Regions from separate parts of the Homo sapiens genome. Here regions 1, 2, 3 and 4 are each linked to region 5. The links are contacts of gene promoters, found by promoter capture Hi-C in blood cells and fetal thymus (Javierre and others, 2016). All regions are on one chromosome and are shown on one strand. The core of a region is centred on a gene start or on the middle of the fragment in contact, and the rest is flanking DNA. Distances in the headings are between cores, read along the strand shown. Region 1 overlaps CFAP54 (cilia and flagella associated protein 54). Region 2 has its middle 2.5 kb from the start of CFAP54. Region 3 overlaps CFAP54 (cilia and flagella associated protein 54). Region 4 has its middle 1.5 kb from the start of NR2C1. Region 5 holds the start of CCDC38 (coiled-coil domain containing 38).

Region 1 (2,700 bases), core at 30-2,529, 580 kb before region 5:
CTCATCTATTTTGTTCACATAGCAGGTACTTAAAAAATATTTATTGAATAAATCACTAACTAATCAATCATTAGGAGTCTGAATTAGTAGTCCTTTAAAAGAATCTTTTGAGAGTCAAAATGATTTACTATAAGTTAACAACTTACATACAAACCCAGAAATGTTTTAGAAAATATGTTCAATGCATATTGAAATTATTTAGTAGAAACATAATAAAATTATTTCATACACAGAAAACAGGACATTCTGCAAAATATGCCAAGGTAACATAGGATGACGTTATAAAAAGGATGTGTTGACTAGCCTCTGAAACAACTACTCACTAAACAATTACAATTTTTTCTTAAAAAAAAAAAATCACCAGAACTTTTCATTCAACAATTATCTTAAGGGAAATCAGATACAAATTAGTTTTTAATGTAATTTTATCTGGAATTTTAAACATTTTTCTTTGAAAATGTATTTAGTTTTGCTACCAGGATAACTGTTAAGTCCTAATAATATTCTAAGTAACAACAGTCTTGCAACTTTGGATATTTAAATTTGGTTGCTCAGAGAAAAAAAATGCCGGGGAGAAAAAAAAAATTGTTCCCTGTCCTTTTACAAAGACTATAGCATCACTACTTAATACCAGATGCAGGCAGCTTAAAAGCTTATCCAAGGAATTGCCTATAAATTAATTAATATACTTGCCAATTAATATACTGTTGGTTAGTAAGGGATATAGCTCAAAAGGGATGTATAAAATGTACCTGTGGGCTCAGTAGTCAATATTGTCACTAAGTAGCAATGGAAAGGTACCATGTCCAAAAACTTATTTGTATTTAAATATAGTAATTCATTTAAAAGAAAGAAAAAGGATTACTCCTAAATGTGTTAAGAAGAAATGAGGAAAGAGAGTAGCAGTGATTGGAGTAGAGGCCAAGCACTGGACTTAGAGATGCTGGTTCTGGTTCTGCCAGCGGCTGCCTTTGTGACCTTGAGCCAGTCATTTAAATATTGCAGGCTTTATTTTCCCAACTGTAATATAAAAGGACTGAACCAGATGGTTTCCCAAATCCTTTCCAGGTTCTGAGATTTGATACACCTCTTCTGTAAGAAACTGCTCACCTCCTTCCCCCCAGATTCATTTTCAATCTCTACATGGAAGCTCGCAGAAGAGGGTGTATATCCATCTAGAACAGTCAGGGAGAGCTTCAAAACGATATAGAACTGGGCCCTGGGGGATATTAAGAGTCAGGAAGGCAAAGGGAAGAAGAAGAAGAAAAAGACAAGGGGAAGAAAAAGGGCCGAGGGCCCCACAGGTGTAACTTTGCCTACTCCCTGCCCTGTGATCATCTTTACTACTGTTTGCCAAATAGGCTTGTGGTTGGGAGGGGCTGTGTGACTGGTTATGACATGTGAGAAGAACAGACTCATGTCACTTCCATGTTGAGCATCAATGCCCATGAAAGGTCCCCCAGAACTCTCTTTAATCCCCTCTGGCCAAATGACCAGCAATGTTTGAAATGAAGGCGGCTCTTCAGCCTGGCCCTGAGCAGCTTTTGTAAGGCAGAGCCCCTGATAACTAAAATAACATATGACTCCAGTAGGCAATAAATTGTTGTTTTAAGCCACCTGAGGTACGGGTGTTGTTTGTTGCTACTGGATAACCTAGCTCCTGAACATTCCCAAGGGTGAAACCTAAGGCTGATGAGAAAAGGTGCCTCCATCTTCTCCACAGCCTCAAAGCCTGCTCGCCTGCTCAGCTAACCCTAAGTGGTCAAAGACAAAGGCAAGTGCAGAACCACTCAGAGGCCTATTCATTTGCAAGAGCCAGTTCATTGAAATCTTTCACAGGCTCCTCTTCAGCCTCTTGTTCTTTAAGGCTGCAAAACTGGGATTGTGCTAAGACACAAAAGCTTTGAGAAAGAGATGAAGCGAGGCTACGTGCAAACTAGAAAAACATTCTTCTCTCTATTTACCCATTAGGGCAGAGAACTGGGGGCAGAATTTAATAATGAGTGACTAGGCTTGAAAGACATAGGAGCATAATACAAATATACTGCAAAAAGAGTCTTAAAGAGAGAAGACATGTTTAGACTTACAGTTTGTACTTCCCTTAGGTTAATTCTTATCTTAGGTCTAAAGACAGCTTTGTTTTTTCTTCTAGATTCAAAGACTCCTCTTTTGAAGATCATCACTGCCATCTGCCTCAAAAAGCAGAATTATACATGAAATAACAATGAGATGCACTTCCCAACTACTAAGTATTTAATCAGCTGTAGAGTGTGGTAAATTTCTTTTATTTCATGAAATTTTTATACCTTCATTGTGGCCTCTCGAAAATATCTTCGCGATTCTTCCTGGGATTTTGAGGAACTCATTAATTCCAGTTGCCTTAACTCATCAATTTTAGCCAAAGCACGCCGAGCAAATGCCTACATGTGATTAAAATAAATTTAATTCATAAATCAGAATATAGTGATTAAAATGTATAAAGACAATGTTTTGTTCTCCCAGGCATTTGATTTAATCTGTGAATTAAGCTCTAGGTTAATGCTGACTCCTTTTATCCAGTCTATCATTTTATTTAAGAACCACTAAACTCTCTAATAAACTGTGAATAAGGTGACTTTAGGAATTATGAAATTTTAAAAAGGAAAGCTGAAATATCACTTAAACAGTAGCTCCATACAGATTATCGCTTCTCAGCATTTG
Region 2 (2,700 bases), core at 166-2,665, 540 kb before region 5:
AGGGCTTTTAGGAGACTTTACTTCTGATGGGGAAACTACAGACCTCCAGGGAAATACTTGGGGAGTTTATTCTTAGCCTGTGTATTATAGGCAAAAGTCAGAGTTAAATTTATTAAAGTATGAGTATTGAGAAAATGGAGAACCTTCTTTTCTATAAATTATGCAACACAATAAATTATCTAAGAGAAGAACCAGAAATATTTGGTGGCTTAGAAAAATCAGTCTTTAACCCTGAAAATTGTTACCAGTTCTATCACACTTAAATAAAGACAGTGACCCTAACACCCTGTGAACCCAATTTTCCATTTCAGACTAAGAAGCTTATTGGACCACAGCCTGATATCTTTCAAGTCTGACCTAATTTTATGCAGGCTCTGTGGGCCTGTGCTAATTTGTGAGGCTGGCCTAATATGTCATGTCTACTGTACCCTAATATTCTTTGAAGGAAAATAATTTTGCTCATCGGCACAGTTAATTATAGCCAGAGAAACTTCCTGGCAAGCAGTGAGACGCAATGACACCTCACTGTAGGAGTCCAATTCTCTAATCAGGATGTAGATATCATCCTTTGATCAACAAAGATTTTATCTTGTTCTCTAAGTGAACAACAAAAATTGTAAGGCTTTAAAGAATGTAGTCCTAGAGAAATAATCACTGGGCATTTACAAAAATATTAATAGACATTTTTAAAAGTCGGCTTGGTAAATTCTCTTTTTTCTCATCTTTTTCTTGCTCTAACATGGCAGACTTGTCCATTGCAGATCAAAAACTGGTGTAATTTGCCACTGAGTGCTATCTATTATATTGATGAAAGTGAAACAGCAGGATAAAATTAATTAAAGTGGTCACAGAAAAGGAAAGAAAAAAATAAAAGACAAAGTGGTGTTTTTCCTTCTAATCTGGCTACTGTCACAAACAAACTTTATCATAGGGCAGACACTTGTATTTCAAAGTCACTGGTAAAAGAAAATGTGACTAAGCAAATTCAAATACCTGAATTATGAAACATTGCATCTTAGTCACTTTCCCCCTTGCACACACTAAAGCTAACAATGCTTAACTTGCAGTAGTTTTTGGAAGCTTGTCTGAATATTTAAATGGGTGTTATATTCTGAATCATCATTATGATAAGATGGAAGTTTACATTTTATTTAGTTTAAATTAAATTGGCTGGGTGTCGTGGCTCACGCCTGTAATCCCAGCACTTCAGGAGGCTCAGGTGGGCGAATCACTTGACGTCAGGAGTTCGAGACCAGCCTAGCCAACATGTTGAAATCCCGTCTCTACTGAAAACACAAATATTAGCTGGGCGTGGTGTCGGACACCTGTAATCCCAGCTACTCAGGAGACTGAAGCAGGAGAATCGCCTGAACCCGGGAGGTGGAGGTTGCAGTGAGCCGAGATCATGCCACTTCACTCCAGCCTTAGCGACAGAGCTAGACCCCATCTCAAAATAAATAAATAAATAAATAAATAAATAAATAAATAAATAATAAAAATAAAATAAATAAATTGAATTTGAGGCATTTTTAACATTTTAGAGGTGTTATCTTCCTTGTAATTAGATGCAGCCATTATAATATCTTTCTCTTTCCTTGTCACTTTGCTTTATTCTTCTCACTGTAATGAAAGAATGGAGCTGTGCAACTACTGTGTCTGACAAGCCTAAGTACTGTAAATAGCTTCCTTATAAATAATGTAAATTGCTATTTCTTATAATTAACATCTTCGCAGGCTGCAGGGAAGCTTTTTGCCCATTCGAAAGTCTTTTTTATCTAAAGCTACTGACTGTTAAAGAATATGCAAGGTTAGTGCTCTTTCAATTCTCAATTTAGTTGTTAATCATTTGGACTATCCCAAATAGATACAATATATATGATCTACCTAATATGTAGACTTTTTAAAACTTCTTCATCCATTTATTCAGATAAATGCAACCATTTTGTTAGTGTCCATACAAGGCATAGATGAACCCATACATTCCCTACAGGAAGCAGATAACACAAACTCAAATAATCATAATTAAAAGGCATGCTATGGATTAGCTGGACATGGTGGCATGTGCCTGTAATCCCTGCTACTTAGGAGGCTGAGGCAGGAGAATCACTTGATCCCAGGAGGCGAGGTTGCAGTGAGCCGAGATCGCGCCACTGCACCCCAGGCTGGGTGACAAAGTGAGACTCCATCTCAAAGAAAAAAAAAAAAAAGGAAAAGAAAAAGAAAGAAAGAGAGAAAAGAAAGAAAGAAAGAAAGAAAGAAAGAAAGAAAGAAAGAAAGAAAGAAAGAAAAGAAAAGAGAAAAGAAAGGAAAGGAAAGGAAAAGAAAAGAAAAGAAAAAAGAAAAGAAAAGGCATGCTGTGGAATGTGCTGTGAGAAAGGTTTTAAGAAATGTGGGACCGCCAGGTGTGGTCACTCACGCCTGTGATCTCAATACTTTGGGAGGCCGAGGTGGGTGGATTGCTTGAGGCCAGGAGTTTGAGACCAGCCTGGGCAACACAGTGAGACCCTGTCTCTGATTTTTAAAAAAAATTTTTTTAATTAGCCTGGCATGGTCACATGCACCTGAAATCCCAGCTACTCAAGAGGCTGAGGCAGAAAGATCACTTGAGCCAGGAGTTTGAGGCTGCAGTGAGCTATAATCACCCCACTGTATTCCAGTCTGAGCTACAGAGCAAGATCTTTTCTCAAAAAAAAGAGAGAG
Region 3 (2,720 bases), core at 20-2,519, 560 kb before region 5:
CACTCCAGCTTGGGCAACAGAGTGAGCCTCGGTCTCAAAAAAAAAAAAAAAAAAGTGAGGCTATTATAGGGGTGACCCAGGCTCAGAAAAAGAGAGAGAGCATTCCATGTATTCCAAGGAATTTGGACTTTAGCCAAAAGGCAAAGTCAATGGGTAGTGGAACAAAATGACAGGTTTCTACTTTAGAAATTAATTGGCCAGGCACGGTGGCTCACACCTGTAATCCCAGCACTTTGGGAGGCCAAGGAGAGTGGATCATGAGGTCAGGAGTTTGAGACCACCCTGACCGACATGGTGAAACCCCATCTCTACTAAAAATACAAAAATTAGCCGGGCATGGTGGTATGCGCCTGTAATCCCAGCTACTAAGGAGGCTGAGGCAGGAGAATTGCTTGAACCTAGGAGGCAGAGGTTGCAGTGAACTGAGATCATGCCACTGCACTCCAGCCTGGGCAACAGAACAAGACTCCAAAAAAAAAAGAAGAAAAGAAAGGAAAGAAAGGAAGAAAGGAAGAAAAGAAAGAAAGAGAAGAAAAGAAAAAGAAAGAAAGAAAGAAAGAAAAAGAAAGAAGAAAGAAAGGGAAAGAAAGAAAGAAAGAAAGAAAAAGAAAGAAAGAGGAAGAAAGAAAAATAAATTCTGGCAAAATATGAAAAGCAAAAAGCAGAAGGTAGGGGGTCAAGGCTACAAAAAGGGGAGTAGGAGAGACCTTTTCCCTAACAGGGTGCCAACCTACATCGCCCAGTATTCTCATTCACGTACCTATGGTACAGCCAAATTGAACTGTTCAATTGTCTCCCAAACATGCCTTAAGAGTTTCTGCTTATTAACCACATACGGGTCCCAAACCCTTGAATAGTCCTCAAGTTTGAAGTAACATAGATTTAGAGTCAGACTGATCAGGGTTCAAACACCAACCCTGCCCATTGCTTTAAGTGGGCTAATAAACTTCCATTTCCTAACCTGTAAAAGAGGCACCTCTTAGGACTTTAATGAGGCTGCAAGATGATAATTCATACAATGTATTTAGAAGAGTACTCAGCACATGAAAACTGCTCAACCAGTGAATCAATGGTAGTAATTAACAAAATACTGGTATACTAGAAATAAAGTATAAATATTTTATATCAATAGATTTATGTTTAATCTTGAGTCGCTTTTTTATACTATGTGATAAGCTTTATTTTTCTCTTCTGTAAAATAGGGATAATAGTATGTAACTCATAAAATTACTTTATCAAATTTGTTTTCCAAAGCACTTTATAAACTAAATGCACTCTACAAGTATTAGTTATTAAATAACAACTGCTACATGAATGAGTGACTGCAGTGACTTAATCTCCAAAGCATCCTTACAAAGCTTGATAAGTTCACTTTCTTATCCAGCACTGAAAGTATTTATTAAGCAACTTATAGCACACAGCTAGATGCTATGCTAAGCCAACAAGACATTTAGAAGCTGTCAACTAAAAGATACATTGTATAGCTAATCATAAATTGTAGCTATTTCAGCTGCTCTTTCATCTTACTGTAAGTCCAGCAGTTTTATCTTTAAAGCCTTTTGGGAAAAAGGTAGCTTTGAATTGAGTTACATCCACTTTATTCTCATCAAAATTGGTATTGAACTGCTGAAGATATCTTCCATAGCATTGTAAAAGGGCCAGTTTGTATTCCTGAAACAAAAGGAGTACTTGATTAAAGTTCCAAAATATCATTTAGCTTATCATTATTAGGTAATATTCATATTATTCCTAATAGTATCAAGGTTGATTATTACAATTATACCATTACTACTGGCTCCATTTTCCAAAAACATAGTATGTGAGAGACACTGCACTATACAATGTATGTGCATTATTTCATCTAATTCTCCTCACAATGAGCCTATGTGAGATGGGACCATCATGACCACAAGGATGAGAATATTTACTATGGCACTGTGCATGGTAATACCTACAAATACTCAAAACCCAGGTTCCAAAATTCAGCATCATCAGATCATGGTAACCCACATACCTAGAGAGGTGGATGAGTAGTCTTGCTTCTCTGATACCTCATAGGCTCGAAAAAGAAAAGAAACGAAGAGCGAGCGAGCGAGAGAGAAACAAAGGAAGGAAGGAAAGAAGGAAGGGAGGGAGGGAGGGAGGGAGAGAGGAAGGGAGGAAGGGAAAGGAAGGAAGGAGGGAAGGGAGAGAGGGAGGGAGGAAGGCAGGAAGGAAGGAAGGGAAAGAAGGGGAAGGGAAAGGAAAGGAAAAGAAAAGGGAAGAGAAGGGGAAAGGAAAGGAAGGGGGAAGAAAGGAAGTGAAAGAGAGAGAGAGAAAGAAAGGAAGGAAAAAAAAGGAAAGGAAAGGAAGAAAGAGAAAGAAAGGGAGGGAAGGAGGAAGGAAAAAATAAAGGGAGGGAGGGAAAGAAAGAAAGAGGAGAGAGAGAAAGCGAGAAAGAAGGAAGGAAGGAGAGAGAGAGAAAGAAAGAAAGAGAAAGAAAGAAAGAGAGAGAGAGAAAGGAAGGGAGGGAGAGAGGAAGGAAAGGAAGGGAGAGGGAGGGAGAGAGGAAGGAAGAGAGGAAGAAAGAGGGAACCAAAGAAGAGAAAATAAAAGAAAAAACTGCAGAGTGAGGTGAGCTACTTGCCTCTCTTTCATCTGTCAACACTCTAAAGCTGCATCAGGACAAATAAAAAGCATCTGAGCAGTGGGATTTTTATTCATTCAAATTCATGCTTATG
Region 4 (2,824 bases), core at 163-2,662, 870 kb after region 5:
TATTTTTAGTAGAGACGGGATTTCACCATGTTGGCCAGGCTGGTCTCAAACTCTGACCTCAGGTGATCCACCCGCCTCAACCTCCCCAAGTGCTAGGATTACAGGCGTGAGCTACTGAGCCTGGCCAGCATCATAGATTTAAAGATGAACTTCGGCTAGAGTCACACATTTAAAGATGAACTTCGGCTGGGCACGGTGGCTCATGCCTGTAATCCCAGCACTTTGGGGAGGCCAAGGCGAGCGGATCACTTGAGGTGAGGAGTTCGAGACCAGCCTGGCCAACATGGTGAAACCCTGTCTCTACTAAAAATACAAAAAGCTTAGCCAGACATTGTGGTGTGCGCCTGTAATCCCAGCTACTCGGGAGGCTGAGGCACAAGAACCTCTTGAACCCAGGTGGCGGAGGTTGCAGTGAGCTGAGATCAAGCCACTGCACTCCAGCCTGGGCAACAGAGTGAGACTCTGTCTCAAAAATAAATAAACTTCATTTACCTCTTTTCCTGAAGCATAATTAATGGAAACGCTTCTTCACCTACAAATGATGTTCCTAAAATGGCTTCTACTTCCAAGTTTTAACAAGTCAACTTATTGTGACTTAAGTGAATTAATTGGGTGATAAGGGGTAACCACAAGCATCACTATAGGCATACATATTCTCCACCAAGAATAGTGAAGAGGTCTCAGATTGCCTGTATCCATTAGGCCTATAGTGCAGTCATGCACTGCATAACAATATTTCAGTCAAGGACAGACCACATATACAATAATGGTTGCATAAGATTATAATCCCCTATTTTTACTGCACTTTTTTTTTAAAAGGACTTAGTTTACTTTTTCTATGTTTATATATATTTAGATACACAAATACCTACCATTATGTTACAACTGCCTACAGTATTCAGTAACATGCTGTACGGGTTTGTCCTAGGTTTGTGACTTAAGAGCAACAGACTACAACATACAGCCTAGGTGTGTCTAGGCTAGACCATCTAGGTTTGTATAAGTACGCTCTATGATGAGAGTAAAATGAAATTGCCTAAGGACTCATTTCTCAGAACATATCCCTGACGTGACTATACTTTCATAATTTTCACCTTTGGGACCAGCTTATGGTATTGGCAGGGGTCTCCCTTAAAACCAAACCAAATACACAACAAATAATGCTAAAAGGTAGAGGTTGGAAAAAAAAAAAAGTTTCACTCTCGCCCAGGCTGGAATGCAATGGTGCCAACACTGGACCAGACTCCTGGGCTTAAGCAATCCTCCCACCTCAGCCTCCTCAGTAACTAGGAATACAGGCCTGCACCACCATGCCTTTTTTTTTTCTTTTTTTTTTAAGAGATGGAGTCTCACTATGTTGCCCAGGCTGGTCTCAAACTCCTGGCATCAAGCAAGCCTCCTACCTCAGCCTCCCAAGGCTCTGGGGGCAGAAGCCACTGTGCTCAGCAGAGGTGGATTTTTAATGAGGGATAAAGCATATTTTTACTTGTTAGGGATTGTTTCATGCCTTGATCTCTGTCCGTCTGCCTAGTTCCAGAGAGAAATAACAGAGATGTTCTCATTCCCAGCAAACGTTTGTTTTTCCTTCCTTGGATTTCTGCCCTGAGTTTGTGGCTGCTTTCCTACAGTGCCGACCTAAGCTAGATAAAATAGAAATTTCATGACAAAACAAAGGAGATTTAAAAAAAAACTAGAAATTTCAAGAATGCTTCAAAATCTAAAGCGCAGAGTACTTTGCACACAGGGCAGTTATTCCTGCCACACCTTGCCACTACAGGTGGCCACTGTCAGAATGCGATGTTCCACCAATGTCTCTTCATTTCACAATTTGAAAAATTTTTTTTGTGGAGGCAGGGTTTTGTTATCTTGCCCAAGCCGGTCTCCAACTGCTGGCCCCAAGTGATCTTTCCTTGGCCTCCCAGCAGCCACTTGCCTGGCTTTCATTTCATACATCATTATTGAATAGCAGGCATTGTCCTATGTGCTTGGTAATACATCACTGAGCAAAACAGACAAAAAACGGCCATTGAGGATAATCCTCAATATATAATAATATATATATTATAGAGAGGATGTGGAATATACATATATATGTGTGTGTGTATATATAGAGAGAGAGAGAAAGACTCATTGTGTCACCCAGGCTGGAGTGCGGTGGTGTGATCTTGGCTCACTGCCGTCTTGACTCAGGTGATCCTCCCACCTCAGCCTCCAAGTAATTGGGACGACAGGCACGCGCCACCAGGACTGGCTAATTTTTTTGTAGAGACGGGTTTTCGCCATGTTGGCCAGGCTGGCCTCAAACAACCGGGCTCAAGTGATCCGTCCGCCTCGGCCTCCCAACTTGCTGGGATTACAGGCGTGAGCTACCGTGCCCAGTCTCTAGTGATTATATTCTTGCCCTGTTTAGCCATTATGTCTCTTTACTCACAACAGTTTATAAGTGAAACTTTGCCTTACCATTTGCATGAGTCGGCCTCAGCTTGTCATTATATATAAAGCTTACTAATGTAAATGACGAGTTAATGGGTGCAGCACACCAACATGGCACATGTATACATATGTAACGAACCTGCACGTTGTGTACATGTACTCTAGAACTTAAAGTGTAATACAAAAAAAAAAAAGTTTAAATATGATTGGACTCTACCCCAGAGCCCAGTTTTCCAGAAATTAGAAACAGATATGCCTAAGACCCAGAGGGTTATTTATTACTCAAATCTAAAACGTTGACTCAAAACCTCCCCTAATGCCCACCTTTGGCAAACGATGCTTAAACCTTTGCACGTGGCTTCAAAAATTACCTGGCTGGGAACGCGTAGCT
Region 5 (2,700 bases), core at 83-2,582:
CTGATTCTAAAATTCTAGGGATAGGGAGTGGGGGACGCAGGTGGAATCAGAAATCTGCCGTAAGAATAAAATAACCACAGGCCACCCTGACAAAGGTGGTCTTCTGGCCTCCCTTTAAGAAGCACTGGGGAGGACCTCAACCCCTTCTGATGGTTGGACAGTGATATTTTACCAGCAGAGGCAGGACCCTGATGCGTTCCAATGGGGTGTTCCTCTCTGAGCTCTTTGGACGGAATGACAACCCCAAGCAGCAGAGCGTGTTAGCAACAGGTACCCCAAAGGCTGGCTTGCCCGTGTATCTCTGTGCAGGGACGCTTTCACGGCGTTGTTTCCCTCCAGAGTGCACAGTGAGAGGAAGAGCGGCCAGCTCCGCCCGTGGCGGTCCCCACCCTGCGCGCCCGGCCACTTACTTGCCCACCACCAGGCTGGCGCCTTCCAGCACCGCCAGGCTGCGCAGCGCATCCCGCGCCAGGAAGCGCTCGCCGCGGGCGCACACCAGCACCACTTGCTGCGCGTTCTCCAGCAGGAGGCTGTGGCCGCTTGCCATGTCGCCTCGCGCCGAGGGTCGCCGGGAGGCCACCGGGCTCGGGCCACCGGCAGGACTCAGTGGAGGACGAAAAGCCGCAGCCTGCGCTGTCCGGGGCTGGGAGGGTGGGGCGGGGGCGGGCGCTCGCAGCCGCTGCCCTTTGCTCGCCTCCCCCAACCACAGCAACGGGGGCGGTAATCATTGCAAGAATGGCAACGAGTAATAAACCTGATGAGGAATCCTCTCTTTTTTGGTCGTCTTGTCCCATCCCGAGTAAACGAGATGGAGACTAGTGTCCCTACTTTTCAGATAAGGAAACTTAAGCTTGGTCACCCCGAGAGATCAAAGTGAGCTGTGTGGATCACGTGGTATGTGGAAGCGCGTCAAGGGTTGGCTGGGTGAGGGCACCCGGAGTGTTCGGGAGTGAGGGACCGGAACCTGGGGTAGAGCCCCGGAAGGGGGGCCATGGGGGAAACCTCTGCCCGGGGGGTTGGGGTGGGAGCCTGGAGATAGCGCTCCTGGAGAGGGCAGAGTAGGGGAAAGCTGTGCCCAGGGGCAGGGACGGGAGCTTGGAGGTAGAGCCCCGGGAGAGGACAGAGTGGGGGAAACCTCTGCCTAGGGTGCTGGGACGCGAGCCTGGAGGCAGAGCCCCGGGAGGGTACTGCGTGGAGGAAACATCTGCCCACAGGTTCTGGGGCGGGAGCCCGGGACGCGGAGGGCCGCGAGCCGAGGGAACCTGGGGGTGGGGAGGAGGGGGATGCGGTAGGGGAGGTGCTCCTGGGTCCGCGCGGGTGGCGGGTGCCCCGCACTTATCCGTTGGCCAGCTGCGTTCCGGGATCAGCTACCAGACGGTCCCTGAGATGACCGGGAACCGGGCTGGGGGAGGATAGAGCCGAGACTGGAGGATCGATTGGCACCTCCGCCCACTTTTCCCACAACGCCTTCCCGAACGATAGGTTGGAAAGGCTCCTGGATCCAAACTCGCTGAGGTAAAATAGGTTTCAGCTCAGTGTCCGCCCCTCCGCATGCCCCCTCCCACCCCTCAGCTGTGTCTGGTGGGCCTACAAGCAACTTGCGACCAAAATTGGAGACAGAATCAAGTTTATGGAAGATGGTCTGTGATTCTCAGCCTCGTCGCTTCCTGCTACCAATTGCTATGGAAACACTGCCAGGCCCAGGCTTTTGAGTCCTTAATTACTTGATTTCGTTTATTCATGTTTATCACAAGCTCTGTGTTAAGTCTTGTGGAACATACAAAGATAGGAAAGGCGCTTTCCCTGCCCAGTAAAGACTTTACAATAAAAGTGATAGATGTGGACACAAATAATATACTATAAAAGCAGACTAAGCCTGCAAACCCACAAAATATAAAAGTTAATTTAGTCTCATTAAAAAAACCTGGAACAGAAAGCAAACACTCCTTTAGATGACCACGATAAATAAGAATATAATTTAGCTTCATATTATGGCCTATAAAAGAGAGATCAGTTAGGAAAGAGAAAGATAAAAATTGGAAAATATATAGACAATGTGAGTGAAAGAGACCCTAAGGGTGGGGGGGAGGGGGCATCAGAAGATTATTCACAGCTCATATACACAATCACAAACAGGTTGTTTGTGTGTGTGTGTGCATAGCTTTTAAAAAGTTTATACATACATATATTTCTATGTCTTTAAAAAGAGAAGTAGAAATAGTGGGGAATAGAAACACATAAAGTCACTAATTCACAGAGAAATATTAAAATTTTCTATTATAAAATTTCTGCTGAAGACTTTAATCAGTTACATTTTGCAATTTTAGGCATATTTGCAGAACTATGCAATTGTATGTATAAAGGATGGGTTAAAATTATAGAAAAATAGGGTTCAATAAACTTGTCTTAGTCTGAGTTCTGTTTCCTATAAGCTGTTTGACCTTGGGGAATTTCTTTACAGTAATTTCTCGAAGCCTCGTTTTCTCATCCTCATCATAGGGAGAGCTGTTTCTACTTTATGGGCTTGTCTGAGTTTTAAATAAAATAAAACATAAATCACTTAGCCCAGTGCCCAGCTCTAAACAAGTAATAGGTATTATTACTATTATTCGTGTGTTTTAATCCTGCTATTTGTCTTCCTGGCCAATTAAGTTAAAGATTAGATTTCAGCCAATAGTATAGTTCCTCTCCTGACTTCAC

The links. The method cuts DNA at HindIII sites, captures the fragments that hold promoters and counts their contacts. A CHiCAGO score of 5 or more calls a contact.
Region 1: a contact is called between a fragment that was not itself captured here and the fragment with the promoter of CCDC38 in region 5, in 8 of 17 cell types (activated CD4 T cells, fetal thymus, total CD8 T cells and 5 more). The highest score is 12.1, in activated CD4 T cells.
Region 2: a fragment that was not itself captured here is called in contact with the fragment with the promoter of CCDC38 in region 5 in 6 of 17 cell types (fetal thymus, activated CD4 T cells, non-activated CD4 T cells and 3 more); the score reaches 9.5 in fetal thymus.
Region 3: a contact is called between a fragment that was not itself captured here and the fragment with the promoter of CCDC38 in region 5, in 8 of 17 cell types (fetal thymus, activated CD4 T cells, naive CD8 T cells and 5 more). The highest score is 9.4, in fetal thymus.
Region 4: a contact is called between a fragment that was not itself captured here and the fragment with the promoter of CCDC38 in region 5, in 1 of 17 cell types (fetal thymus). The highest score is 5.8, in fetal thymus.

Annotation. Positions count from the first base shown.
Region 1 is chr12:96,521,577-96,524,276 of GRCh38, reverse strand. CFAP54 (cilia and flagella associated protein 54) reads right to left here. Exons shown (of 68, transcript NM_001306084.2): 7 at 2,307-2,420; 8 at 2,088-2,189. Among named protein-coding and RNA genes, the nearest start is that of CFAP54, 33 kb to the right of the region's middle. RefSeq lists enhancers at 1,144-1,644, 1,645-2,145 and a silencer at 1,692-1,986. The HindIII fragment of the contact is 1,249 bases long and covers 655-1,903 here.
Region 2 is chr12:96,485,726-96,488,425 of GRCh38, reverse strand. No RefSeq gene overlaps it. Among named protein-coding and RNA genes, the nearest start is that of CFAP54, 2.5 kb to the left of the region's middle. The HindIII fragment of the contact is 666 bases long and covers 1,083-1,748 here.
Region 3 is chr12:96,502,837-96,505,556 of GRCh38, reverse strand. CFAP54 (cilia and flagella associated protein 54) reads right to left here. Exons shown (of 68, transcript NM_001306084.2): 3 at 1,528-1,671. Among named protein-coding and RNA genes, the nearest start is that of CFAP54, 15 kb to the right of the region's middle. The HindIII fragment of the contact is 182 bases long and covers 1,179-1,360 here.
Region 4 is chr12:95,073,741-95,076,564 of GRCh38, reverse strand. No RefSeq gene overlaps it. Among named protein-coding and RNA genes, the nearest start is that of NR2C1, 1.5 kb to the right of the region's middle. The HindIII fragment of the contact is 2,182 bases long and covers 322-2,503 here.
Region 5 is chr12:95,941,246-95,943,945 of GRCh38, reverse strand. CCDC38 (coiled-coil domain containing 38) reads left to right here and starts at 1,332. Exons shown (of 16, transcript NM_182496.3): 1 at 1,332-1,515. AMDHD1 (amidohydrolase domain containing 1) reads right to left here and starts at 615. Exons shown (of 9, transcript NM_152435.3): 1 at 411-615. The coding sequence starts at 547. The HindIII fragment of the contact is 1,867 bases long and covers 853-2,700 here.